Linked DNA regions of Homo sapiens: all the other regions are linked to region 1. The links are contacts of gene promoters, found by promoter capture Hi-C in blood cells and fetal thymus (Javierre and others, 2016). All regions are on one chromosome and are shown on one strand. The core of a region is centred on a gene start or on the middle of the fragment in contact, and the rest is flanking DNA. Distances in the headings are between cores, read along the strand shown.

Evidence for each region. The method cuts DNA at HindIII sites, captures the fragments that hold promoters and counts their contacts. A CHiCAGO score of 5 or more calls a contact.
Region 2: a fragment that was not itself captured here is called in contact with the fragment with the promoter of PTRHD1 in region 1 in 1 of 17 cell types (neutrophils); the score reaches 6.6 in neutrophils.
Region 3: a contact is called between a fragment that was not itself captured here and the fragment with the promoter of PTRHD1 in region 1, in 1 of 17 cell types (neutrophils). The highest score is 5.7, in neutrophils.
Region 4: a fragment that was not itself captured here is called in contact with the fragment with the promoter of PTRHD1 in region 1 in 8 of 17 cell types (neutrophils, megakaryocytes, erythroblasts and 5 more); the score reaches 14.0 in neutrophils.

What each region holds. Positions count from the first base shown.
Region 1 is chr2:24,786,791-24,794,662 of GRCh38, reverse strand. It overlaps PTRHD1 (peptidyl-tRNA hydrolase domain containing 1), which reads left to right and starts at 1,272. Exons shown (of 2, transcript NM_001013663.2): 1 at 1,272-1,537; 2 at 4,082-4,935. The coding sequence starts at 1,286. The coding sequence ends at 4,252. CENPO (centromere protein O) reads right to left here and starts at 1,238. Exons shown (of 8, transcript NM_001322101.2): 1 at 1,162-1,238; 2 at 698-811. The coding sequence starts at 743. It overlaps LOC105369164 (a long non-coding RNA gene), which reads left to right and starts at 1,588. Exons shown (of 3, transcript XR_939843.4): 1 at 1,588-1,896; 2 at 2,079-2,279; 3 at 2,884-4,071. RefSeq lists an enhancer at 1,182-1,611 and a silencer at 3,373-3,452. The HindIII fragment of the contact is 6,911 bases long and covers 1-6,712 here.
Region 2 is chr2:24,467,217-24,474,406 of GRCh38, reverse strand. No RefSeq gene overlaps it. Among named protein-coding and RNA genes, the nearest start is that of NCOA1, 20 kb to the left of the region's middle. The HindIII fragment of the contact is 9,179 bases long and covers 1-7,190 here.
Region 3 is chr2:24,509,791-24,517,518 of GRCh38, reverse strand. The region is part of intron 1 of NCOA1 (nuclear receptor coactivator 1); the gene reads right to left. Among named protein-coding and RNA genes, the nearest start is that of NCOA1, 22 kb to the right of the region's middle. The HindIII fragment of the contact is 5,933 bases long and covers 2,822-7,728 here.
Region 4 is chr2:24,446,909-24,453,976 of GRCh38, reverse strand. The region is part of intron 2 of LOC105374329 (a long non-coding RNA gene); the gene reads right to left. Among named protein-coding and RNA genes, the nearest start is that of NCOA1, 41 kb to the left of the region's middle. The HindIII fragment of the contact is 2,111 bases long and covers 1,001-3,111 here.

The DNA of each region.
Region 1 (7,872 bases), core at 23-2,522:
TTGACTAAGGACTAAGTAAAAGTAATAGTTTCGTAATTCTAAGCAACTCTAACAAGCATTCTTTAAACACCTTCTACATTTTAAGACACAAAGTATGTAAAGAATTAAGCCTTTCATTGAATATTTCCTATATATTAGACATGTGCTAAATGCTTCACTTGAAAAGTCTGAGTTCAATACTTTTCCACCACAAAAGAAATACTTTTTCCACAACCACAACTACAGTGCTATTTTCACCTCCATTTTCCAGATGAAGAAACAGAGGCAGAGAATAAAGTGACTTGCCTAAGGTCACAATATTTATCATGGCAGAGCCAACACTCAAAACCAGTTCTAGCCAACACTAAAGTCACTGCCCTACACTGGCCCTCCCTCAAGAGTAATGCATACATGGCCCAAAAAATCCGGGGAGAGGAAAGGGACCTCCCTGGCTAGAACCGCAGTTCAGAATATAAACACTGAGCATATGATGGATGCAACTTATCCGTTTCAAAAGGGGTGGGAGCCTAGAAACGAAGCCATTTTTCCTCCTCGAATAATCTTGGCTGCCTGTCCCTTTGTCTTCAATGTTAGTTCCTTTCACTATTCTGCTCCCAAACAGGCCAGGTCCCACGTCAGTTCCAGGAGGAAAGGGCTCTCTCAGCCTGCGGGTCATCTTTGGGCAGCAGCAGGAAGGAGGCGGCGACCCTCTGAATACCTCCTTTGGACTCGCCATCTGGACGTAAAGGGTTCGCCTGCTCCATCTCAGATTCCCAAGGGCCTTCCCATGAAGTTGTCTAGGCAACCGGTGATAGGGACTCCAATGTCCTTGCTAATAAAAGAAAAATGGCAACAGTCACATCACATCTAGTCCCATTCAAACCCAGACGGCAGGGCACACACCACTCAGGCACAACCCCTGGGCCGCGGATGACACAAATGTCACGGCTAGGATCCCCTTTCCTGAGCCGCCCGCCCTCTCCCATCGTCCGAGCCAGCAGAGTCCATGCCCACCCCCGCGCCCATCCCGCGGCCCCGGCGCGCTCCCGAGGCCACGGCTACTCTGGTCCAGCGGGCTTCCCGGCCACGGAAGGAGTTTTAAGAAGGCCGTTCAGCCCGCCACCCTGGCCACGGTCCGGTCCGACAATGGGTCTTTCCCCTACCTTCTCCCTTCTAGCTCACCCAGGCCAGAAGCGAGAATTCCCGCCATCCACGTCTTCAAAACCAAACCAACCGGTCCCGGCGTGCTTTGCGATCCTGCCGTACAAAAGCATGGCGGCGCTCAGGGCCCCGCCCTGATCCCAAGATGCACCGGGGAGTAGGTCCGGCCTTTCGGGTGGTCAGGAAGATGGCGGCCTCTGGGGCGGAGCCGCAGGTCCTGGTACAATACTTGGTGTTACGAAAGGATCTATCACAAGCTCCGTTCTCCTGGCCGGCGGGCGCACTGGTAGCGCAGGCTTGTCACGCGGCCACCGCGGCCTTGCACACTCACCGCGACCACCCGCACACAGCCGCTTACCTCCAAGAGCTGGGGCGCATGCGCAAAGTGGTCCTCGAGGTGAGGCACTCGGGCGGAGGGGGAGGTGCTGAGACATCGAGGGCGGAAGTGGGTGTGGTCTTCGGTCCGAAGGCCTGGCTGCGGGGAGTGGGTGCGGCGGGAGTTGGGGTGATCGTTAACATTTAGACTGGAGCTGTTTCCCTGGAGGTGCGCCCTTGGGAAGGGCCTGACTGTGTGAAGAGTGGACAGCAGTCCTCCGCCCCCTGCTGGGCTCGCGGTAAAGTGGTGGCTCCTGTGTCCCCGCTGTTCCGCCTGTGCACTGGCCGACTTTTTAAAGCCATGCCCCAAAGTGCTGTCCTCCTGCAAAACCGAGCCCGAAGGGACAGTGCAAAGTGAAGTCAAACTGAGTATTTACCTGGGTAGGACGCCAAATTATTTGAAAATAAATACTAAAAACGTTAGTATAAATTGAACCTAGCTTCAGCTAGACCAGGCACCAGGTGTGTAAATCGGTACACCTTTTAAAATAGCAGTCAGGTTCTGTTTGCAGATGACCAAACAAATCTCACCCTTACCCTTTGACTCTCTATCCTGCTGCTAGAGATGTAGCCTAAGAAAATAATCAGATGCACCCAAAGAGCTTTGCACAAGGATATTCATGGGAGCCCTTATGGTTTTGAAGCATATTTAGTGGTCGGGAAGAGTGCTCATGATGCGAAGCTAACTGAACTATATATACAGAATGATCCAGACTTTGAAAGGAAAAACTAAAGAAATACATCTACATATTAAGTAGTGCATGGTGAGATTTTGGTTATTTCCTAATGCTTAATCTGTATTTTTAAAATTTTCTACCTTAAGCACATATTTTATAATAAGGAAAAACGGCTTTAATAATAAACGGCTTTTTATAATAAGGAAAAACGGCTTTAAGCCAGAACTCAGGTGGAGGGGTGGAGTAATCCCTTCATGGGTAACTGACAAAGATAGATTATCTTTCAAGAGAAAAATTGCTGCTGGATAGTGAAACATCAAGCGGTAACCTGTAGGAAAAATGCCTTGAGAATCTGTGTAGGCAGAACAGAAGCTGCTGGCTTTTCACTTAGATTTTCTTCCTAGTAAGAGGTCTCAAGAAATCAGGTTAGACTCCTCTTGTCGCAGGTGAAACTCTCTGAAGCCTACAGGGATTAAGTGACTCCCCTGAGTTTAAAAGAGGGTCTCATGATTCTTAGTTGTTAGTCATGACTCAAGAAAGGGACTTAGGAGTCGCTACTGATTACATTGAGGTGCCGCTGTAGTCAGAAGGGCCAATAAAATATAAGAAAATACCAGGATTAACTACATTTATTGAGTGCTTAGTGTGTGCCAGGCACAGGTCCAAGCCTGATTTCATTGATCCCCATTAGGAAGCATTATTCCTGTTTTATAAAGGGACGAAGAGGCCAGCGAAGTCACCTAACTTATCCACGATCACACAGTCAGCAAGAGTTTGGAGTCCAGTAGTCTGATTCCAGAGCCTCACTGTATCTCACTATGCTCTGCTGCTGCCCGAGGCTGAAGAAGCTGATGAGTCCTCCAGCAGAGCTCTGCCAGAAGGACTCAGCAGGTTAAGAGTCGCAATACTGGCATTCTCTAATTTATTAAAACAAGCCTCTGAGTAGCTTAGTGGCTTCTGCCTTCATAGGTAAGAGATAAACTTTATGCAAAATAACACAAAAATAATAATTTTCTGAGTGATCGTTTTAATACTTCCTGGAATGGGATTCAGCATGGGTGAATTGGCAGTAAGGATGACCCAGAAACAATTTCAGAAGGATGTTAGAGAATATTGTACTCTCCCTTTAATAAACAAGTGGGAGCCATCCCAGCAGAAGGAAAACCCCTCTAGGTTTCAGTGAGGTAGAGTGGGAGGGGTGGAGGAAAGTGGAAGTGGATGTGCTTTTAGAAATCCTTCCACTAGGGGCCGGGCATGGTGGCTCACTCCTGTAATCCTAGCACTTTGGGAGGCTTAGGTGGGTGGATTGCTTGAGGTCAGGAGCTCCAGACCAGCCTGGGCAACATGGTGAAACCCCGTCTCTACTAAAAATACAAAAATTAGCCAGGTGTAGTGGTGTGCGCCTGTAATCCCAGCTACTCGGGAGGCTGAGGCAGGAGAATTGCTTGAACTCGGGAGCCAGAGACTGCAGTGAGCTGATAATCGTGCCACTGCACTCTAGCCCAGGCGACAGAGCAAGACTCTGTCTCAAAAGAAAAAAAAAAAAAAACTTCCACTAGGCAGCTCTTAAAGTCAGAGGCACTTAAAATTATGGGCGCCAGCCATAGGAGAGCTGGAAAATGTATAGAGCAGAATTACACATTACACATGTGTGTGTTGGGCATACAACATCTCACAAGGGAAGATACAAATCTCCATTTTCTAAACTGGAATATGAAGCCTCTCTCCCCTCCCCAGTGCACCACGGAATGACATCATTGCTCTGCAGCTCCCTCCTTGGTAAAGCTGTTACTCCACTTTCAGGCAAGAGGACTCCCGAAACCTTTTTTGGCCTTTTGACACTTCCTAAGTGGGCTATTCAGTTTGTGTTCTGTGTTCTTCTCCTTTAGGCCCCAGATGAGACCACCCTAAAGGAGCTGGCCGAGACCCTGCAACAGAAGAACATTGACCACATGCTGTGGCTTGAGCAACCAGAGAATATCGCCACTTGTATTGCTCTCCGGCCCTACCCCAAGGAAGAAGTGGGCCAGTATTTGAAGAAGTTCCGATTGTTCAAGTAACTGCTGCTTTGATGTGTTTGAATACGCAGGCCACCCATTCCAAAGCATCATGTGTTCCTTGCAGTGTCAGCTTGCTCCCGTCTTTCAGTTGTGACAATTTCTTGAGGGTTAAGCACATGTTCATATTAAAGTTGTCATTAATAACTACTTCCTCTTATTAATAAGTTCAAGTGGGGAAGGTGGGAGAGCAGTATTGTCTGGGGATCATTGCTCAAATAGAAGATTTGGTTAGACTCTCCTGTGGGGCTCAAGGAAACTCCCTTCCAGTCACTCGGGTTTGAAACTTTGCTTTTGAATTCCTTCTTATTCACATCCAGTTATCATATTTCATTGAATCTAAGATAACATCAACTTTAAGATGCGGTAGTATTTTATGTATTGTTAAAAAATATGCCGGCAAATTAAACACTTGTATTTCAATAACAAAGATGTTAAAATTTGGCCAGTGTGGTGGCTCACATCTGTTAATTCCAGGGTTTTGGGAAGCCAAGGCAGGAGGATCGCTTGAGCCCATGAGTTCAAGGTTACAGTCAGTTCTAATCATGCCACCGCACTCCAGCCTGGGCAACAGAGTGAGACACTGTCTCTATAAAGATTAATAACAAGTTAAAATTTGTGTGTGTCTATATATATGTACATACATACAGATTTATTAGATTCAATGAAATCTGTCAAGTACTACAGCTGTTTTCTTGTCATTTCAGTGCCGTTGCCCTGTGTCAGCCTCTCATTTTGCTCACTGGCGTGTCCCACGGTCTGTTCACCGCCAGTGTGACACTCCAATCCAGCAGCTGCTTTGCCACCACATAGGACGACTGAACACCTACCTGTGTAGTCTAGGCTCCTCTCTGCCTATGGAGTAATCCCAGCACTCCTTAGCTTAGACTTCAGGCCCTCCTCATGTGTATTTCCTACCTATCTTTTTTGTTTTTTCGAGATGGAGTCTCTCTCTGTTGCCCAGGCTGGAGTGCAGTGGCGCCATCTCTGCTCACTGCAACCTGCGCCTCCTGGGTTCAAGCCATTCTCCTGCCTCAGCCTCCCGAGTAGCTGGGATTACAGGTGCATGCCACCATAGCTGGCTAATTTTTGTGTTTTTTTAGTAGAGACGGGGTTTCACCATGTTGGCCAAGCTGGTCTCCAATTCCTGACCTCAGGTGATCCGCCAGCCTCGGACTCCCAAAGTGCTGGGATTACAGGTGTGAGCTACCGTGCCCGGCCTCCTACTTATCTTTTTAGTTGAATCTTCTATTCCCTTATTCAAACTTGATGTTTCCACAGAGTCCCTCCAGTTGCTATTCTCCAGTCTCTGGCATGGGAGTTGAATGTTACTACTCCTCCCCTCCCTTTCCTGCCCCTGGACTTTACTTAAACTATTTCCAGCTCAAGTGCTATCACTGCCAAAAATTCTTACCAAGCCAAAAATGATAGTTCCTTCTCTGAACATCTGTAACACTCTGTACAACGTTTACAATATTTCTATAAACATTTGGACACATCTACAGAAATTGCTTAGACATCTGTGAAGCAAAGTTTATAAGGGGTAATTTGTTCAACAGATATCTATTGTTTGTCTGCTGTGGCAGGCTGTGCATAAAACAGTTTTGCCCTCAGGTAGCTAAGAACCTATACGGATATTACCCGTCCCCCTTAGATAATGTTCTGCTAAGATCCCAGATAAGATTTCCCTTCATGGGCCCGGTGCAGTGGCTCATGCCTATAATCCCAGCACTTTGGGAGGCTGAGGTGGGAGGATCACCTGAAGTCAGGAGTTTGAGACCAGCATGACCAACATGGTGAAATCCTGTCTCTACAAAAAAAAAAAAAAAAAAAAAAAAAAAAAAGATTTCCCTTTAAGAAAGGTGGTCACCTGAATCAAGGAGAGTGGATGGGTCTCTCTCACAGGGAGAGTTGGTAGAGTGCTGAGGGCAGAGCCAACCCCAGGAAGCCAAGTGAATGAGGAGTTGAAGGGGTAGAGAACAATCAAGTGCAGCATAGAATGTCAGTAAATAAAACGTGGAAACATTTAGCAATTGGGAATGTACTGGTGAACTTAGTGAAGTTTAAATAGCATAGTGAGGGTAGAAATCAGATTGTAACATGTTGAGACAAGAATGGGAGGCCAGGCGTGGTGGCTCACACCTGTAATCCCAGCACTTTGGGAGGCCAAGGCAGGCGATCACGAGGTCAGGAGTTCGAGACCATCCTGGCCAACATGGTGAAACCCCGTCTCTACTAAAAATACAAAAATTAGCAGGGTGTGGTGGCAGGCGCCTGTAATCCCAGCTACTCGGGAGGCTGAGGCAGAAGAATTGCTTGAACCCGGGAGGCAGGGATTGCAGTGAGTAGAGATCGTGCCACTGCACGCCAGCCTGAGCGACAAGAGCAAAACTCCGTCTCAAAAAAAAAAAAAGAATGGGAGGGGAGGGAGGTAAGAGGTGAGAAGTGTCCTTTCCAGAAGCTTGAAAGGGAGGAGAGAGAGGATAATGACTGAAAAGGGGCTGGAAAGATCAATGCTGGGTCCCCTAGTGGGGATTTTCTTAGATCTTGAGCAGGATGATGGGTGAGGAGGAGAAAGTAAGGAGAGGAGAGATTAAGAGATTAAAGTTCCCAAATAGAATAACTGATGAAGTCCAGAGAAAACAGGAAGAGATGGGGTCAAAGGCTACGGGAAGAACTGGCCTTGAACTGAGAGAGGGGAAACTTCTTTTCTGAGACTGGTGGAAAGGCAGATGGTGAAGATATAGATGTACGTAGGTTTAATAGATTGTAGGAGAAAGAAAGTTGAAGTTGACCATACCTGCTGACTTTTTTTCTATTAAGTAGGAGGCATATGCACTATACTCAGCAAACTAAAGCAGCAACAGAAAACCAAATACCACATGTTCTCACTTGAAAGTGGGAGCTAAATGATGAGAACACATGAACACACAGAGGGGAACAACACACACGGGGACTGATTGGAGGGTGGGAGGAGGGAGTGGATCAGGAAAATAGCCAGTGGGTTCTAGGTTTAATACCTGAGTGATCAAATCTGTACCACAAACCCCCATGACGCAAGTTTACCTATAAAACAAACCTGCACATCCTGCACAGGTACCCCTGAACTTAAAAGTTTAAAAAAGTAGGAGGCATACGATCTTTCATAACACTGAATAAACTTATTGAGCACTATATTAGCTAGCATAACAGTGAGTAGGAGCCTAGGCTTTGGTGTCAAACTGCTTGAGTCCAAATCTGGGTCTCATACTTTCAAGCTCTGTGGACTTGGGCAGTGACTCTATTTCCCTGAGACCCAGTTCCCTTATCCGTAAAGTGGGGATTTAAATGTGTTTGGATGTACAAACCCCTTAGAGCAGTGCCTGGGACTTCGTGCTAGAACCTAAACTTGGGAAGATGCAGATGGCACAGCCGTCAGAGCTGCCCTCCAAGAGTTCTCCATCAAGTAGGCCATTGTCTACCCCTTTCTGTTAGGGAGTGATGCCATCCAGGAATCATCAAGTACCATTTCCATTCAAGCCAATTAGGAAAATGTTTCTAAATGACACTGCATCTTAAAAAAAATTAAGTTCTGAATTCTTCAGTAAGACATAGTATAAAGCTAGACAGGCCAGGTGCGGTGG
Region 2 (7,190 bases), core at 1,684-4,183, 320 kb after region 1:
TTGTGATCTGCCCACCTCAGCCTCCTAAAGTGCTGGGATTACCAGGCATGAGCCACCGAGCCCGGCCCAGATTTATGTTTTTAATAGCAGTGCGTACAAATTCCAGTTGTTCCACATCCTTGACAATTCTTTATTTTAACCAGTCTGGTAGGTGTGCAATATCTTATTGTGATGTTAATTTAGATTCCTCAGATGACTCATGAAGTGGAGTATCTTTTCATATGTTTAAGGGCCATTTGAAATGCTCTTTTTTGAGGTGCCCGTCAAAATCTTTTGCCCACCTTCTGATTGTATTGTCTCTTTTTCTTATTGATCTGTAGGGGTTCTTTATATATTCTGGACAAAAATCCTTCTTGGGATATATATATTACATATGTCTTCTCTCATTATGTGGTTTTCCTTTTTACTCTCTTAATCTTATCATTTGATGATCTTAAGTTCTTAAAATTAATGTTTTTTAGTTTTGTTGGCTTTTCTTTTCTTCTTCTTCTTTTTTTTTTTTTTTTTTGGCATGGCCTTTCTCTGTTGCCCAGGCTGGAGTACAGTGACATAATACAGTGACATAATCATAGCTCCCTGCAGCCTTGAACATCTTGGCTCAAGCTATCCTCCTGCTTCAGCCTTCCAAGTAGCTGGGACTATAGTCATGCACCACCACATCCAGCTAATTTTAGAATTTTTTTGTAGAGATGGGGATCTCACTACTCACTATGTTGCCCAGGCTGGGCTCAAACAATCCTCCCACCTAAGCCTCCCAATGTTCTGTGATTACAGGTGTGAGCCACCACACCCTGCCTGGCTTTTCCTTTAGGCTTAGTGCTCTTAGTGTACTGCTTGAAAAATTTTAGACAGAGCAATTATAGTAGTTGGAAAAATAGTATAGGTCCATACAAAACTAAAAATAAATTAAGAACAAAAAACATGGCATTCATTAACTTCAAGAAAAAAATCAAACTAGAAACAAGACATAATCACAATATACTACTTGGTTCAACAGTGACAATTATTTACACAATTATAATACAATCCTTGACTACTGATTTATCCAAAAATTATGATAACTTTTTGAGGTCTCTGTGGGGGCCCAATAAGTAACAACCATCTTCCCAACCTGAGTTCTGAACAAATGGAAAAATAATGCAAAAGAGTGGCAGAGAGAGGTTAAATGTCACCTTTATTATAATCGATTAGAGGCCAAGTTGCAGAGTGTGGCATCAAGTGTTTTTGCAAAGTGGGATGGTTAAGACAAAACCAGACATAGATGGAATTACCCCCTCAGTCACATACGCCATGCTGGATCAAGGCGGGCCTTCTCACATGAGTCCTTCATGGTGCCCATGCAGCTGGCAGGAGCCCCTTTGGGTCAGCAGATGATTGTTTGACATCCAACACCACTAGATTTTCAAGGGAGTAGTTTAGTTTAAAAAGGAAGAAACTTTATCTATAATTCTTCTGGTAAAATGAAAATCACTCTAGGCAGGTATTCATGTAGGAGTATTTTTTTTATTTCAGCTTTTATTTTAGATACGAGGGGGTACATGTACAGGTTTGTTACGTGGGTATATGGAACCCAGATAGGAGCATAGTACCCAATGGGTAGTTTTTCAATCCATGCCCCACCGCCTCCCCTCCCCCTTTAGTAGCCTGCAGTGTCTATTGCTCCCATGTTTATGTCTGTGGGAGCTCAATGTTTAGCTCCCACTTGTAAGTGAGAACATGCAGTATTTGGTTTTCTGTTCTTGCATTAATTTGCTTAGATTATGGCCACCAGCTCCATCTATGCTGCTGCAAAGGACATGATCTCATTCTTTTTTATGGCTGCATAGTATTCCATCATGTATCTCTACCATATATATTTTTTTTATCCAACCCACCATTGATGGGCCCCTAGGTTGATCCCATGCCTTTACTATGTATGAAATGTGGCAATGTACATACAAGCACATGTGTCTTTTTGGTATACTGATCTATTTTAGGAGTATGTTTTCATTAAGATGTACCTAATGCTATAAAAAATAAACTCCTGGCCAGGCGCAGTGGCTCATGCCTGTAATCCCAGCAATTTGGGAGGCTGAGGCGGGCAGATCACCTGAGGTCTGGAGTTTGAGACCAGCCTGACCAACATGGAGAAACCCCGTCACTACTAAAAATACAAAATTAGCTGGGCGTGGTGGAGCGTGCCTGTAAACCCAGCTACTAGGGAGGCTGAGGCGGGAGAATCCCTTGAACCTGGGAGGCAGAGGTTGCAGTGCGCCAAGATCACACCATCGCACTCCAGCCTGGGCAACAAGAGCGAAACTCCGTCTCAAAAAAAAAAAAAAAACTCTCCTAAATTTATGTCTCAACCACAATATAAATTGAGTTATTAATGATATAACAGGCCAAGTCACGTGTTCCTCATCAGTGGAGGCAGCTCTGCCATTTTCACAGTTGACTTCCAAGGTTGCACTAGTCCTTTCAGTATACAGAAACATGGGAGGGAGGTTCTTACGGGCCAGGCATAGAAGTGCCACTCATTTCCACTCATGTTCGACTGGCGAGAGACCTAACTGCAAGGGAAGCTGGGAAATGTAGTCTAGCTATGAGTGCAGGAAGAAGAGGAGCCTACAAATTTTGGTGAACAGCTGTCTCTGCCACTGGATGTAAGGTTCATGTGGGCAGGGGCTTTTTTGTTCCTTATTGCCTCTTGTGAGTGACTCATAGTGGGCATTCGATAAATGTTTGTTGAATAAATAATGTAGTGGGAAGAACATGGGCATTGAAATAAAAAAGACCAGAATCCTAACCCGAGCTCTGCCACTTCGTAATTGTATTAATTTAGACAAGTTACTTAAATTTCTCAAGGCTCAATTTGTCATGTATAACGGAGATGAAAATATACTTGTGATCTGCTTCCCAGGCCATACTAGCCAGATGTGAGAATAGGTAGTAGCTGAAATTATGCCGACAAAAATAATAATAGTGGCTGGGCTCAGTGGTTCATGCCTGTAATCTCAGAATTTTGCAGACTGAGGCAGAAGGATTGCTTGAGCCCAGGAGTTCAAGACCAGCCTGGGCATCATAATGAGACCCCCATCACCACAGAAAATTTAAAAATTAACTGGGCGTGGTGGCCTGCATCTGTAGTCCCAGCTACTTGGGAGGCTGAGGCAGGAGGATTGCTTGAGTCCAGAAGTTCAAGACCAGGCTGGGCAACATAACAAGAACCTGTCTCTATTATTTAAAAAAAAAATTTTTTTAATAGTTATCATTTCCCTGGTCCTGCTTCCTCACTAATATTTCTGAAATAGGTCTCTGATTTCCTCCCAAATTACTCTGAGAGTGAGGAAGGGGATGTAACATGGAGAGAGTGGTTCTCTCATATATATATATTTTTAAATTTTATTATTATTATTATCATTATTTTGAGAAGGAGTCTCGCTCTGTCGCCCAGGCTGGAGTGCAGTGGCGCGATCTCGGCTCACTGCAAGCTCCGCCTCCTGGGTTCATGCCATTCTCCTGCCTCAGCCTCCTGAGTAGCTGGGACTACAGGCGCCCGCCACCACACCCGGCTAATTTTTTTTGTATTTTTAGTAGAGATGGGGTTTCACCGTGTTAGCCAGGATGGTTCTCGATCTCCTGACCTCATGATCCACCCGCCTCGGCCTCCCAAAGTGCTGGGATTACAGGCATGAGCCACCACACCTGGCCTCTTCTTCTTTTTTAAAATGTATTCTTAAAGCACTATATTTGTCCAAGCAGCCAATAGCGTCTCCATTTCCCTGTTTTCTGCCTCTGGCACCCTGGAGTGGCCAGATGGTCAAGGCTTGGGCTGAGGCTACAGGTTCCCAATGCCTTCATGCTCCCAGATCACTACGTGCTCTCGGTTCCTTCCAGAGCCCCATGGCTCTGCCACGTACGCTGCCCAGCAAGGGTGCTCCAGGTCATACTATCTTGCCTTAATAGCTTTCAATTGCAGTGGCTTTGTTTGTTTGCTTCTATTCTTTTATTCAATCTCACTAGACTAAGGCAGAAATCCCCAGAGCAGAGACAGCATATAATGTTAGCGACAAGCAGCTTACAATATTCATGACATCCCTCCCACTTTCACCCAAATTTGCCCCATTGTCCTTAGAATGAGCTCTTTCTCTGGACTTCCTTGATTCTTGAAGCAAATAGATTCCCTCCCAACAGACTTCCAGACATTTATAGATCTGTCAGAACTCTGGGCTGAACCTAGGTTTGTCGGCCTAGCTGGGATTCCCTGCACCCCACCCCTGTGCTTTTCTGCTTTGCAGGGTTGATGTTGGCATTCAATTAGATAAAGTAGGTAAAATACCAGAGTTGTTGGTGGCATCAAAAAGGTACACAGTACATGTTGCTTCTTTTCATATTATTTGGGCTACTTCTGGCATCACCAAAATTTATAGCTATACATCACTTATTCCCCTGAAGGTAGTCCCCTGGCTACAAGCACCCTTGAATTTGAGACAGATGGCATAAATACTACATCACCTTGGTACTTAGGGCAGGGTCTGCAAATTCAGTTAATAGACAGTCTTGGATATAGGGCCTGCAGGGATTGCATTTTCCAGAACAGGAAATAGAAAACTGATATGGGCCACAAGGGAGTGATACCATGAGAGCAGCATCTTCACACATTATTTTTCCAATTATCCACAGATATTTGCTATTCAAGTGGGGCATGGGAATTACTAAGGTAATTACTAGCTGTCCCAACAACTGCTATGTGGACCCTTCATTCCAAAAAAAGGGAAGAAGATATGAAAGAGAGAAAATATGCAAAATAAACAATATTCTAACCAATGCCTTTTGGATGAATTAGAGCAGAAAAGAACAGAAATGTGGAAAACAGGAGATGCTTGCAGTGACTCACAAATGAGCAGATGAGGGCCTGAACCAAGAAGGCAGTTGTTTAACTGCTTTGATAATGGCAAGTATGAGACATTGTAGAAGAAAAAATTAGGATAAGTTTTTGATGAGTTAGACATGGGACGTGCAAGAGAAAAAGGAACAGAAAGAATGATGAGGTTATTAGCTTGAGAAGCAGGGTAGTGCCTCTGAGCTTAAGGCATAGGACCGAGAGTGAGAAGACCTGTCCCTACCACTTTGAACAAGTGACTTAACCCCTCTTAGCCCACTCTTCTCATTTGTAAAGTGTCTCTGCTCACCACATAGTGGTTTTGTAAGGCACAAATAAGATGATGTGCAGGAAAGCTGCAATGTGCTGGACAAGTGAAAGGCAGTAATGTTCATCATCATCATCATCAGTAAGGAAGCTGGAAAGGGAATATAATGTGACTAAGAGTATGAGAAATTCAATTTTAAATATGCTAAGATGTTGGCTTAACATCAAAGTGAAGATAACAGAAAACTAGCTAACGTGGGGAATGACTTAAGGAGTTAATGAGTCAGGGCCATTATATACAACAACAACAACAACAACAAAATATGTTTCCATAAGAGGCCAAGTCTAATCTGTCATTGATGGGCATTTAGGTTGATTCCATGTCTTTGCTATTGTGAATAGTGCTGTAATGAACATACACATGCATGTGTCTTTATGGTAGAATAATTTGTATTCCTTTGGGTATATACCCAGTAATGGGATTGCTGGGTTGAATGGTAGTTCTGCTTTTAGCTCTTTGAGGAATTGCCACACTGCTTTCCACAACAGTTGAGCTACACTCTCACTAACAGTGTATGAACGTCCCATGGAATACTATGCAGCCATAAAAAAGAACAAGATCATGTCCTTTGTGGGAACATGGATGGAGCTGGAAGCCATTGTCCTTAGCAAACTAATGCAGGAACAGGAAACCAAATAGCAGATGTTCTTACTCAGAAGTGGGAGCTAAATGATGAGAACACATGGACATAAAGAGGGAAACAACAGACACTTGTGCCTACTTGAGGGTGGAGGGTGGGAAGAGAGAGGATCAGAAAAAATAACTATTGTGTACTAGGCTTAGTACCTGGGTGACAAAATAATCTATTTAACAAACCCCCATAACACAAGTTTACCTATATAACAAACCTGCACATGTCCCCTGAACCTAAAATAAAAGTTAAAAAAAAGGGGCCAAGTATTCTAATTTATTGAGCTGATTTGGGATATAAGGTCAACTGTGGAACTGAGGCATATAATCACTTGCATAGTAGAATAAGCATACGCAGCACACCTGAGCAATAGCGTTACTGGTATTTCTGTGCTATGAGAGCCTGGATGTGGCTGCCTTAACACTACAGACCCTTGACTGGAGCTTCATTCATCAATGTCCTTGGATGTCCACCTATGAAGTGCACAAAAAGAGCAAAAGCAAATTTGACTAAAATGGGAAGGGGAAATGGTGTAGGAGTAAACAGTAAAAAGGAAAAGAAAGCCAAGATAAATGTAAGAAAGTAAAAGGAGATGTTGAGTAAAGGATATTTGTCCATGGGATGCAACTATAAATAAACCAGGGAGAAAAAAGATTTTTATGTACTTAAGAATGGAAATCAATGAACTGGACTGAGTATTGTATCAAAACTGTAAGGCATATGATTGTGATGGAAGACACCTCACTTCCTTTTCCTGAGAGAAAGCCACAGGTAATCACCCTTTGTAAAATAAATCATTTTGTATATATGAAAAGAGAATTTGCTGTTTGAAGGAATCCCATGATGGTTCCTCATATAAAGTAAGAGTTCACTTCATAAAGCAAACAATCACTCCCATTTGTGAAATGGATGAATTGGTTGATTGCACAATTTATCACTTGTGTATAGACCTGTATTGTCATCTACTAGGACTCTGTAGATCAAAATAAAGATGACGTTGAACCTGAAGTTCAGCTAGAGATAACCCATTTTCTACCTTCTCTCCCAACTACCTCTTCTTGAGTAAGTTCCCTGGAGATGCCACACCACATCTCCCTCCAAAAGTAACCAAAAAATGAATGACTGAAGAAAGAGGGGGCCCCCGGCCTGGGGCCATCTGGTGCGAAATGTGAGCTAAGCAAGTTGCTTTCCCTCTCTCAGGACTTAGGACTGAGGAAAAAACAAAGCAGTGGTGGCTGAAGTCAAAAGGATTGCAAGTTGCCAACCAAAGTTCAAGAGACAAGAAACAATGATAATGCAGACGAAGCTGCCAATAGACAGGAAATGGATCTGTAGGAAGAAGCAGAATATAGGAGCTGTGAGATCAGGAT
Region 3 (7,728 bases), core at 4,539-7,038, 280 kb after region 1:
CCCTGTCAGTGTGAAACGGTTCTCGCAGACATAAACCCTGAGAGAGAAACCTCAGCTCCAGATAAGGGAAATCCAAGAAGGGCCTGGCTGTGAGAAAATGCAATGTGTACTCCAGGTACAAATGAAATGCACTTGCTCAGAGGAGAAAGTCGGTACACACTGGGTCTTGGAAAAGGGTGGTGGTGTGCAAACAGAACAGCAGTGACAAGCAGAAGAGATTCCACACAGAACGGAAGGAGAGAGAAACTGAAGGAAAAAAAGGAAGACACTCACAGCAGAAAATATAGTATAAAAAATACAAACTCAATTCTCTACAAGAACCAAAGTAATCAAAATCAATAAATAAATAAAAAATAAGTGTGTAAATGGGGCAACTTTAAACCAATAGGAAAACATGGGGCCTAGACCTAACGGAAGAGATTATGCACTAGCCTTAAAGCATTCAAATTCAAGATACAGTAAAATACTGGGTAGTCTAAACAAAATGGGGTGTGTGTGTGTGTGTGTGTGTGTGCGCGCGTGTGTATATATATACGTATATGTGTATATATACGTATATATACTTGTATATATACGTATATATATACACACGCGCGCACACACACATGCACATATATATGTGGTTGAAGGGGGAGCACAGGAAAAAACACTGGTATATAAAGATATATTTTTAAAATGAAAAAAAAAAAAAAAGAAAGCTGGATAGAAATAGGAAAGTACATTGGAATGAAGGCCAGAGAGGCAACTTCACAGCAATGGGAGTAACAGAGGTATAAGAGAGAAAGTGAGAAAGATGATACTAATACATGGGAGAGGAGAGAAAAGGGTCAGGTATCAGACTGAGAATTGAAGGGGGATTAAACCAAGTTAAAAAAATTCTTAATCTGTATTAATATATTCATTGACATTTCATTAGTGTGGCCATTAGCTTGGATCAGTTAACAGCAGTGACATAATGTCACTGCGTAATGACACAATGTAATGAACTTTTATCTTTGCTCCTCCCCTCAATTAAAAAAAAAAGGCGGGCCGGGCACGGTGGCTCATGCCTGTAATCCCAGCACTTTGGGAGGCCGAGGCTAGCAGATCATGAGATCAGGAGATCGAGACCATCCTGGCTAACATGGTGAAACCCCGTCTCTACTAAAAATACAAAAAATTAGCCAGGCGTGGTAGCGGGCGCCTGTAGTCCCAGCTACTCGGGAGGCTGAGGCAGGAGAATGGTGTGAACCTGGGAGGCGGAGCTTGCAGTGGGCCGAGATCGTGCCACTGCACTCCAGCCTGGGCGACAGAGCGAGGCTCCGTCTCAAAAAAAAAAAAAAAAAAAAAAAAGGCAAAACCTATTTATATTCATAAAGAGAAAAAAATTATTTCATAGGTCAGGGTCCATGTCACTTGTGCCTTTATAACATGCAGAGCAAGGCTCAGTCTATTCAGCCTACCAAGCAGCTAGCATACAGGAGTCAAGCCACCAGAGTGACTGCCTGCTGACTGAGCTAAGGCTCTTCCTTAGTAAGAGCTTCTGAGGCACTAACAAAGAGCAGAAGTAGAACTAAAAGAATAACTTCTTTCTTGAAGGAGCTTCACTGAGGGCTTCTGTTTTTTGTTTGTTTTGTTTTTAACTCCTGGTTCTATAAATTATAGACTAGCTTTAGGAAAAAAACTGAATAAAGTTATAAATCTAGACTAACTTTCAGAAGCCCACCAAATTAATAGCTTTTGTTTAGGGATAGTATTACGTATAGGTAGTCATTGCTTACTTTACTTGCTCTACAGGTTTTTTCTCCCTCCTACTTTTTAACATTTCCCCCTAGTTTCCATAATGTTCCAATATTCTTTTCATAACTTTGGACCAATAATTCAATAATGCAAATAAGCAAGCAAGAAAACAAGACAGCCTTCCTCCAAGTAATATAACATGAATCACTCTTAATCACTCAAAATGCCAAAAGTAGAGATAAATTATTAAAAGGTTGCCAAAGGCCGGGCACAGTGACTCACATCTGTAATACCCAGAACTCTAGGAGGCCGTGGCAGGAGGACTGCTTGAGCCCAAGAGTTTTGAGACCAGCCTGGGCAACATAGTGAGAACCCATCTCTAAAAAAAAGTTTTAAAATATTAGCTGGGCATGGTAGTGTGAACCTGTAGTCCCAGCTACTTGGGAGGCTGAGATGGGAGGACTGCTTGAGCCTGGTAGGCGGAGGTTGCAGTGAGCCATGATCGCGCCACTGCACTCCAGCCTGGGTAACAGACCCAGACCCTGTCTCAAAAAAATAATAAAAATGAAAATAAATAAAAGGGTGCCAAAATAAATGACCCCAAAATAAGTTGTTCCTAAATGCACCTTTAGTAATTTAGGAACGCCATACAAAACATGTTTTTAACAAAAAATTTTTGAAAACAAAAATAATCTTTTTTAGATAAGTTCTTTCTCAATGCTAAATTAGATTAAACAACTTTGGTAACTTATTCCAATGCCTGGAGTCCAAGCAAAGGTCACAGATTGATAAGCACTCTTCTGGCTCACACACTTGCTTCTTAATCCAATGAATCCGTACCATCTCTGTCTTTAAGCTATGGATAACTAATGTAACTTTATTAATTCTGCATATTCACCTAACATTCATTATACTACACTTAATATTTACTTTGCATTAAATTATCCTAGATGTCTTTAACATCAAAATCTTAAGCCATATAAATTTATCTATTTATACGTTTACTTTTTTTTCTTGTTTTTTTTGAGACACTCTGCCCTGTCACCCAGGCTGGAGCACAGTGGCACAATCACCACTCACTGCAGTCTCGACCTCCCAAGCTTAAGCGATCCTCCCACCTCAGAGGCACACCAACACAATCGGCTAGTTTTCGTATTTTTGTAGATATGGAGTTTCCCCATGTTGCCCAGGCTGGTCTCAAACCCCTGGGCTCAAGTGGTCCGCCTGCCTCAGTCTCCCAAAGTGCTAAGATTACGGTTGTGAGCTACCACACCTGGTCCTATATTCACATTTTATTACAGATTATCCTATGCTTATTTTATTAATCTCTTAATAATATTTATTTTAAGTCACAATTGCCAGATACTCACTTTACTTGCTCACATAGAGCTTAATCGAGTAATATATAGGTAATGAAGACTATTACCAATGCTTATGTGACTCAGAGATAAAAAAATTTTGCTATTTTTCTTTTTTTCTTTTTGTTTTTTTCCTTTTTTTTTTTTTTTTTTTTTGAGACAGAGTCTCACTCTGTTGCCCAGGCTGGAGTGCAGTGGCGTGATCTCAGCTCACTGCAACCTCCACCTCCCGGGTTCAAGATTCTCCCACCTCAGCCTCCCGAGTAGCTGGGACTACAGGTGTGTGCCACCACACCCGGCTAATTTTTTGTATTTTTAGTAGAGACAGGGTTTCACAGTGTTAGCCAGGATGGTCTCGATCTCCTGACCTCGTGATCCGCCTGCCTCGGCCTCCCAAAGTGCTGAGATTACAGGCATGAGCCACCGCACCTGGCCTAAAAATTTGCTAGTTTTTAAGTAAACTGGTCAAATGAATTCTGGGTGGCTTTATACCAGAATAAGTTAGTCATAGATCCTGAGCCACACAGTATCAGAAGCCTGTTCATTTGCTAGAATAAATGTTTTCTACACATACCAAGTCCTCCTACAGTTGGCCGGAGAAATTGCTGACCCTAACAGCTGCTAACCATCTAGAACCTTATGAATCCCATTTTAGATAATGCTAAGAAATGAAACACTAGAAATGTTTGAGGAATGTAAAACTCTCACACTCTGACAGTAATGTTTAAATTGGTATATTTTATTAAATAATGTCAAATTATTCTCCAAAGTTGAAGATGCATATACTTTTCAACCAGATTCCAATCCTATACGCAAGCACATATGTACACGTGTGCACGCACACACACACACACATTTTCCTTACAAGCTCTCTATAGAAATGCACATATGTTCACAACCAGTATGTTCAGGAATGTTGACTACAGCATTGTCTAATAATAAAACATGGAAATTACCTAATAACCACCCAGAGGAGCGTGAGTAAGTAAATTGTGATGTAGCCATGAAATAGAAATTGCAGGAAAAAAAGGATGAGAAAAAAAAAGGGTACTGCAAGAGCATATTGCAGTATAGTATGTATCTGAGGTTTAAAACATGCAAAACAATTACATTATATATAGATAACAAATATATTCAGAACAATGTTTCCTCTGGGGAATGTGGAAGGGGTAAAAGAAAGAGGGTACAGAGAAGGCTGAACTCCACAATGTTTTACTTCTTTTTTAAAAAATCTGAAATAAGGCAAAATGTTAAGATCTAAGTTGGGCAGAAGGTGCACGGAATGATTTTTCCACTATTCTTTTCTGCATGTTTGAAATATTTCCTATCAATTCAGGATATCAAGACATCTGAACTGGACGGATGCTAACAAATAGCTAATATCTGACTAAGTAAGGCCAGCAAAGAAGTACTTGTGACAGAAGGCTGTTTTCGCAAGCCTTACTTTCATCTGTGTGTGGTAGAGCCATATGCACCCACACACACAAATCATTTCATTTAATCATCCAATACTGCAAAAATGGAGGAATTAACTCCATTCAACAGAAAAGCGAGTTGAGATCAAAGAAACGGTGTTTTGGCTAAGGTTACGCAGCCAAGCAGTCAGAGATGAGTCCAGATCTATAGGTGCAAAGCACATTTCACAACTGTAGTGTTTCAAAGGAACAGGAGATGCACTTAGAAACTCTTGTTAGAGAGGGGTTTCACTGATAACAAACTCAAGATGAGCCCCAAAGATAGCATGGCTTCCATTAACAGCTTAATTCTGGGTTATATGAAAAGGAAAAACAAAAAAACTATCAGTCAATTACACTCTGTACCACGCTGCACCACTCTGCACATAAGTGAAGTTTAATTTTAGACTCTGAGTTTTAAGAGGACCTTGATAAAATGGGTAGTCATTACCAAGGGCAACATTCCAACTGAAAAAAAGAATAAACTTTCTAGCCATTAGAGCTTTTAAAAACTGAACTGAATTGCTTTAGGAATACAAGCATTTCTCCTACTGCACCGGTGGATATAATGCTCTCATTTAATTATAAAACACTGTGGGTTTTGATCCAATCACCAACTCTCTTTAATTTAAACTGCTAAAAGCAAAATAACTTATTAAACCTATTGAGCTCCTAAACCCCTGTTCCTTCTGAAACTTTTTTTATTTATAAAATGATGTTTGAATAGGTAAGACTTCTTAATATAACTATTGTATTATAGTACAACACACTTCAGTGAACTAACCACCTCTAAAACTGTTCAAACAGTTGAAAGCTCTTCTGTCACAGATGCAGAGGGCTCTACTCTAAGAGATTCAACTGCATAATCAATAAACATCCTCCTAACTTTCACATTCTACGATAAGTGCAAAAGTTAGTACAGTTTCGGTACAGCAAATACTTAGCAGGGAGTCGAGGGTGAAACAAATGAAGTGGCAGAATCATATAGTGATTAAAATATTATCAAGCAAGGTGGAAACTGAAAGTGCTACTGATGTATGTATTTGGAATATAATGAGCTTTTGTCCCCACTGTAAAAAAAAATTGGGATCTAACTCATACCATATAGAAAAATTAACTAAAAATATATCAGACCTAAATGTAAGCACTAAAACTCTTAGAAAAAAAAGACATAAATTTTTGTGACCTTGGATTAGACAATGGTTTCTTCAATATGGCACCAAAAGCATAAGAAGGAACAAAATCAATAAATTGGACTTATCAAAATTAGAAATGTTTGTCCCTCAAAGAATAACCACCAAGAAAGTAAAAAGACAAACTACAGGATGGGAGAATATATTTGCAAATCATATATCTGATAAAGGACTTGCATCCAGAATATATAAAGAATTCTTACAATTCAGTACAAAAGACAACACAATTTTAAAATAAGCAAAAGATCTGAAGAGACATTTCTTCAAGGAAAATGTACAAATGGCCAAAAAGCATATGCAAAACTATTCAACATAGTCATTAGGGAAATGCAAATCAACAATTATAGTGAGATGCCACTTCACTGGAGAATGTGGAGAAATCAGAACCCTCATACACTGCTGCTGGGAATGTAAAATGGTGCAGCCACTTTGTAAAACAGTTTTGCCGTTCTCACAATGTTAAACACAATTATCATATGACCCCGCAATTCATATACTCAAGACAAATGAAAACATATGTCCATGCAAAAACTTGTACATGAAAGTTCAGAGAAGCATTATTCATAGTAGTCAAAATGGATTACAGTGGGACATTATTTGGCCATAAAAAGGAATCAAGTACTGATACATGCTACAACATGGATGAACCTCAAAAACATTACACTAAGTGAAAGAAGTCAGACAAAAGGTGAAATATTGTATGATTTCACTTACATGAAATGTACAAAATAGGCAAATCCATAGAGACAGCAAATAGATTAGTGGGTGCCTGTGGCTGAGGAAGGGAGGAATGGGGAGACACTGCTAACAGGCACGGAATTTCTTTCTGAGGAAACAAAAGTTTGATATTACACAATGGTGATGGTTGTACAACTTTGTGAATATACTAAAAGCTGCCAAATTGTACACTTTAACAGGGTGACTTATGGAATATGATTTATATCTCAAGAAAATGGGAAAACTTTGTTGGGAATACCAGAATGAAATACTAGATATTTCACCACAGTAAAGAGAATATGGCAATAAAGTCCCCAGAGTACAAAAAGAACTGCAAGAAGCAAAGTACCAAGAAAATGTGTCCAGGTCAAGCCCTAAGGCTTTCTGATAAACGCATTACCAAAGTTTACCGAAAATATAGTGCACTACCAGAGACAGTGGCTCACGCCTGTAATCCCAACAGTCTGGGATTACGAAGAGGCTGAGGCAGGAGGATCACTTGAAGCCAGGAGTTCAAAACCAGCCTGGGCAACACAGGGAGAACCCATCTTAACAAAAAATTTAAAAATTAGCTAGGCCAGGTAGTGCATGCCTGTAGTCCCAGTTACTTGGGAGGCCAAGATGGGTCACTTGAGCCCAGGAGTTTGAGGCTGCAGTCAGCTATGATCATGCCACTTCACTCCCATCTGGGCAACAGAGCAAGACCCCGTCTCCTTTAAGAAAAAAAGTGCAGCCGGGCGTGGTGGCTCACACCTGTAATCCCAGCACTTTGGGAGGCCAAGGCGGATCACTTAAAGTCAGGAGTTTGAGATCTGCCTGGCCAACATGGTGAAACCCCATCTCTACTAAAATTACAAAAACTTAACTGGGTGTGGTGGCAGATGCCTGTAATCCCAGCTACTGGGGAGGCTGAGGCAGGAGAATCACTTGAACCCGGGTGGCGTAGGTTGCAGTGAGCCAAGATCATGCCATTGCACTCCAGCCTGGGTGACAAGAGTGAAACTCCGTCTCAAAAAAAGTGCACAGTCCTACACTCTGCCCCAGGCAGGCAGACCTAAAGGTACCAACCTCACTCCTATTTCTTTCTTAGTCTGTCACACATGCAAATATTAGTGGTAAGTACTTTAATAGTTTTATTCATTATAAAATAGTTCAGACAAATAAAGAGGTACTGAAAATAATTTTAATATACATTATATACCCACTACCCAGCTAAAGAGATAAAATATTATACATTCAATTATAATTTCTCCTACTTTTAACAAATATTTGTCCTTTTAGAAAAAA
Region 4 (7,068 bases), core at 807-3,306, 340 kb after region 1:
CTAAAATGCATGGACTGTGCTCTCAGGAAGCCTGAAATCTGGTAGGGGTAATGATAATGTATCAACATTGGTTCATTAGTGGGAACAAATGTACTACAGTAATGCAAGGTGTTAACAGCAGGGGAAGTGGTGTTGGTGGGGGTTGTTACAGGAACTCTGTCCTATCTTTGCAACTTTTCTGTAAATCTAAAAGTATTCTAAAATTAAAAGTTTATTTTTAAAAACCTGGTTAGGGAAACAGTTGGGTACACAAATAGAAACACATCCATCCTTGTTGCCTGATTTATAGAAATAAAACCAGGCCTGCATAATAGGCAGCTTCCTAAGTGGTATGATTGTTTTATGAACTTCAGAAGCACAAAACTGGATTAATCACAGTTCTGATTCATATTAATAGTGTGTCATGAATCAAGGGCTATGACTGGCCCATTGGTTTTTAAATAAACCTCATTTCATTTATTTTCGTTGTATGTGTTATAATAATACAAGAAACCACTCATAACCCCACCTCTCAACCCAAAAGCCAAAAACTCTCCATGACATACATCGACCTACCTGTTCCATCCCATACCAGACCCCAACATTCTTCTCAGTAGTAACTATTCTTTTAAATTTTGTTTTTATCATACATTGCTCTTCTTTAAATTTCATTGCACATTTGCGTGGGCCTAAACAGTATACTAGTTTTATTTGTTTTGAATGTATTATATGTTGTCTTCTAGGACTTGTTCTTTTAGCTCAATACTATATTGCTAAGGTTGATCAATAATGTTGAGATCATACTCTATTCATTTTCACCATTGTGTAACACTCAATAGCAGGACTGTACCACAATTTATTTAACCATGTTTATCAGTGGTTTAATAAATTGTTGCTATTACAAATGGATTGTGCCATGAACATTTTTTTATGTGTGTTCTGGTAAACATATGCTAATGTTTTCATTGAACTAGAGATATGCAAGATTTAACAATCTTAAAACTGCATAAGAATTAAAGCTTGACAGTTCACTTACAGAAATTATGTTAAGCGTGTCTGGGGAAGAGCATATAATACAAATTCTTCACTACTGAAGCAAAGGAAAATATGAATTATACACTAATTTCACACCAGTTAGGATTTGATTTGTCTATAACATAAAACCCAAATTAATCATTCCTTAAACGTATATGTTGCCCTCATGTAAAACATCTGGAGATGAGAAGTCTAAGGCCAGTTTGGCAAGGTCTGCGGAATTGTCATGAACCCAGGCCTCTTCCAGCTTTTCAGTTTGCCATCCCTAGGGTGTGACTTTTATTCTTCTGGTCCAAAAGGGTTGCTCAACTTCTAGTCATTAAATCTGCCTCCTCATCAGCAAGAAGGAGAAAAGGAAGGAAGGAGAGTGCATCTTCCATTCAAGGACACTTTCCCCAAATTGCACGTGACATTTCTAATTGCATCCTATTAACTAGAAGGGGGACACACGGCTCTTGCTAGTTTCAAGGGAGGCTGGAAAATGTAGTCTTTATTCTGGTCATCTTGTATTCAGCTAAAAGTTAAGGGTCCTATTACCTAAACGAATGGGAAAATAGACTTTGAAAACAGTTAATAGTCTCGGAGAATTATTACAGCTAAAGTGAAAGCAGAAAAGAAACCAACCCATCAAGGCCTTATTTTGAGAAGTAGAAAGAAAAACTAAACACCGATAACATCACCACCCAGTGATGACCACGGTTAACTTGTTGAGATGTATTTTTCCAGACTTTTTCATCCATATAAAAAACTACATATATGTCTCCAGTATAGCCATAATAATACCTATATCTATACCAATATATTCACATGTATTAGTCTGTTTTCAAGCTGCTAATAAAGACATACCTGAGACTGGGTAATTTATACAGGAAAGAGGTTTAATGGACTTACAGTTCTACATGGCTGGGGATGCCTCACAATTATGGCAGAAGGCAAGGAGGAGCAAGTCAACGTCTTACATGGATGGCAGCAGGCAAATAGAGAGTTTCTACAGGGAAACTCCCATTTTTAAAACCATCAGATCTCATGAGACTTATTCACTGTCCTGGGAACAGCAGGGAAAAGACTTGCCCCCATGATTCAATTATCTCCCACCAGGTTCCTCCCACAACACGTGGGAATTCAAGATGAGATCTGGGCGGGGGACACAGCCAAACCATATCACCACACATTACTTTTAAAGGGAAAATTTAAATTAGTGCCATCAGTCAAAGGGAAAGATAGCTGGGTTGTTTTCCTCCCTCCTTAAATTCTTAATAAACTTCATGGGAAATGCAACATTGGAGCAACTAGAGAAAAGAGGAGAATGTGGTCCATAATTGAATGCTGATATTTCTCAGGGGTGCCAAATGCAAAATATTAATAACTTTAACTGCATACAGGATGCTCTGGAATAAAGATTTAGAGGTGAATTTAAAATAAAATAATTAGTCATCCCAGAAAACCACAGGCATGTCTTCAGTGGGGATGGTAGAAAACTTTGTGGACAGAAAAATTAATGGACACAAGAACTTTGGGGAAAGCCAGACTAATGGAGTTTTCTAGATCATAGGTTAAAAAGAGTTACAAGTATCAATAACTATTTACCCTGAAGCACACCTTACCAGATGAGCACATGCTAGGCTCTCTGTTCTCTGTTTAAAAGTCTCCTAGATAGTGAACCAACATGGCATATGACCTTTTGTTAAGAAAAAGGACTATTATACAGAGCTGCAAATTCACCCAACAAACACTTACTAGGACTTACTACATGTCAGGTACTTGAGTACAAAAAAAGAACATACCATGGTCCACATCTTCATGGAGACTGTAGTACAGTAAGGCAGACAAGCACCTATAAAGATGAATTGGCTGGGTACAGTGGCTCATGCCTGTAAATCTAGCACTTTGGGAGGCTGAGGTGGGTTGATTTCTTGAACCCAGGAGTTGGAGACCAGCCTGCGCAACGTGATGAAACCCCATCTCTTAAAAAAAAAAAGATGAATTGAAGTTTACTATGTGTCAGACACTGTACTAAGCACTTTACATGCATTGTCTGATTTAGCATTTATGACTATCTATTCTTACCCTCATTTGACAGATCAAGAAAATGAAGCTTATAGGTCAGGTAATTTGATTGAGGTCACAAAGCTAGTAAGTGGCAGAGCTAAGAATCTATGTCACATCTGTCTGACTTTAGAGTCACCACTCTGGGCCACTGAGCTAAACTGTCTTACAGCCCAAGTAGGCAGTGCTATAATAGAAGTTGGTACAAAATTCTGAAGGAACACAGAAAAAGCATCAAATATCTGCCAGGGGAACATTTATACAGTAGTGTCTTAGCCTGTTCAAGAAGCTATAACAAAATACTATACACTGAGTGGCTTATAAATAACAGAAATTTATTGCTCACAATTCTGGAGGCTGAAAGTCCAGGATCAAGGTGCTAGCAGATTTTACATCTGATGAGAACCCACTTTCTCATAGAAAGGCCATCTTGTCATTGTAACCTCACATGGCAGAAGGGGTGGGGATCTCTCTGAAACCTTTTTCATAACGGCATTAATTCCATTCAGGAGCATTCTGCCCTCATGACCTAATCACCTCTCAAAGGCCCCATCTCTAAATACCCTCACATTGGGTATTAGTTTCAAAATATGAATTCTGGGATGGGGGGGTGCACATAAACATTCAAAGCACACAAAGTAGCATAAAGATAAGAAAATATGAAGTCTAAATATAATGTCAGTAAGTGTTAAAATAAAGATCAATGTGAGCATTAATAAATGAATGGAAAATATGAGATTTCTTCCATAGAGCCCATTAAACCTGAATTTTATAGGTAGCTTTTCTTACTGTTTTTGGCTACACAGTTCGATTCTATATCATCTAATGCCTTTATCCTGTTTTAGTAGTTATTCATCTATTATTGACACCTTCATTTTTTTATCAAGCTATTTTCTCTCTTTTTTTTTTTTTTTGAGATGAGATCTCATTCTGCCACCCAAACTTGACTGCAGTGGCACAATCTTGGTTCATTACATCCTTGACCTCATAGACTCAAGTGATCCTCCTGCCTCAGCCTCCCAAGTGATCCTCCTGCCTCAGCCTCCCGAGTAGCTGGGACTACAGGCATGCCACCACACCCAGCTAATTTCCTTTTTTGGTATTTTTGGTAGAGACAGGGCTTTGTTATGTTGCCTAAGCTGGTCTTGAACTCATGGGCTCAAACAATCTGCTCACCTTGCCCTCCCAAAGTGCTGGGATTACAGGCATGAGGCACCATGCCCAGCCTCAAGCTGTTTTCTCCATATACACTGCCTCTACATAATTATCAGCTCATAGTCAGCAAAATGAACCATGTGTGATCCCTTTTAAAAAATCACTGACTAGGGTATATTCTAGCATACTTGGCACTTAGTACATGCTTGAGTTGAAGTGATAACCATTTATTTAAAATTGATTCAGAGTAATGTATATCAGAGATCAGCAGAGAAGATCCAACATATGGAAAATTGGAGTTTATAAAGACTGAAAACAAAACATTAAAACAGAATATTTAAAATTATAATTACCTAATAAAAATGTCTAGAAATAAAAGAATACCCGAATCTACCCATTGAAAGGAAGATACAGAGTTGAGTATGAAGACTAGGCAAGGGCCAGATCATGTAGATCCTTGTAGGCCACTGTGAGAAATTTAAACTTCAATCTGAACGCAATAAAAGTCCTTTGGAGGACTTCAATCAGAAGCACCAGCCTGGGCAATAGGGTGAGACCCCCAATCTCTAAAAATTAAAAATAAAAAAAATAGCCAGGCACGGTGTGTTGTCCTGTAGTCCCAGTTACTAGGGAAGATGAGGCAGGAGGATTGCTTGAGCCCAGTAGTTCAAGGTGAGGCTGCCTGGGTGACAGGGATTTTCTCTCTTAAAGGAAAAAAAGGAAGCACCATTGTTTACACAAAATAGGGAAGTAGAAATGTGTGTGGACTTGAAAAAAAACTAAATATGGGAATGAAGAAATGGTTTTATTTCACAACACAAGGCCTTTCCACTTCCACTTTAATGATGGCAATAGAGAATTGCACACATTCCTTCCATTTATCAAAATTTTCCCCATAAAGAGACTAACTTTATGCAAACTTTTTGGCATGAAAATGCTGGGCACTAAGAACAGCAAGCAATTTGTGGATTAAAGATATAAAATTAGCACTAGAATTGTTGAGATAAGCCTGGTTTATCCTGGCCAGATGATAAGCATGGGAAGTGGCTGGGTAATCAGAAACTAGTTGTCAAGTTAGAACAAGAGCTCCAAAATTATAACTCAGGATTGAGGACGAGACAGTGTGAGGAGGAAAATTCAGAAAACAAAGCTCAGGAGAAGGCCAGAACACTTTACACGGAGCATATCCTGGGAAATCAAAGGAAAAAAATGTCTATTAAAGGGAAGGGTGGTAGAAATGAGATTAGAGAAAAAAAAAATCAGAAAGATCAAAGAAAATCTGGTGCTTTCCATCCAAATCTGTACCTTAATGGATAGAGAAATATTAGGGGCTTCTCTGTCAAAGATTTCATTTTAACTTCACTGTTTATCTTATTTATTTATTTTTTTTTAATTCTTAAGTTTTCACCCTCTGTACTCAAATTATATGTAATTTTCGATTAAAACACTTACATGGATTGTTTTGGTTTTGACAACATGGAATATTAAGCTAATGTGAACTAACTCTCACTACAAATATACTAAAATGCTTTATAAAATAATACAAAAATTTAATTACATAGTCAAGACTGAGAGAAAGAAAGGAAAAAAGAAAAAAAAAAAAAGGAAACCACAAATCCCAAAAACAAAGAGTGATCCATATTAGTGCAGTAAATCCAATTATGCTGTAGTAAACTGGAAAAGTGGATATTTTTTGTGCCTTGAAGCTACAGAAATCCCCAAACTGGTCCAGGATCCATAAAATTTCTTAAGTCCTAGCAAGAGAAAATGTAAAACATCAAAGCAGAGTGACACTCACAGTTCAGGGCACTAAGATGAAGGAAAAAGAACACCTTCTTCAAAAGTTCACAAAATATAAAAGAGATGAATCAATGAACCAGCACGAGGGAGAGCTCATATGTACAACAATGGGAAGAATTTGTATCCTAAGAACTAGCTATCACAGCAAATCGGAAGGAGACTACTTACTACACTAAATATCTATTTAGGTTACAGTTATTAAGGAGTTGACATCAAATTTTAAAACTTCTACTCTGTAACTTCTGTGAGGATGATGAAAAGATAAGGCACGGACTGGGAGAAAATATTTGCAAACCACATATCCAACAAAGGACTTGTATCTAGAACATGTAGGAACTCTCAAAACAGTAAAAAAATAAAATGAAATAAAATAAAAATCTAATTTTAAAATGGGCAAAAGATATGCCCATATATTTCATTTGAAAATAAATACAGGGCTGGGTGCACTGGCTCACGCCTGTAATCCCAGCACTTTGGGAGGCCAAGGTGGGTGGATCACCTGAGGTCAGGAGCTCAAGACCAGCCTGGCCAAAGTGGTGAAACCCTGTCTCTACTAAAAATACAAAAATTAGCTGGGCATGTGGGTGCGCACCTGTAGTCCCAGCTACTTGGGAGGCTGAGGTGGGAGAATCACTTGAACCCAGGAGGCAGAGGTTGCAGTGAGCTAAGATGGCGCCACTGCACTCCAGCCTGGATGACAGAGTGAGACTCCGTCTCTAAATAAATAAATAAATGGAGTAAACTATCAATACATAGAACTTGAATGGATCGCTAGGGAATTATGCTGACTGAAAAAAGCCAATCTCCATAGGTTATATGCTGTATTATTCTACTCATAAAACATTCTTGAAATAACAAAATCGTAGAAGTAGAGAACAGATTAGTGGTTGCCAAGGGTTGGGGATAAGGCAGAAGCATGAGGCAAGTGCTGGTGGTTCTAAAGAGGCAGCATGCTGCAGCCTCGTGGTGATAGAACAGTTCTGTAACTTGATTGTGGTGGTGGTTACACAAAAATATACATGTGGTCGGGCTTGGTGGCTCACCTTTGGGAGG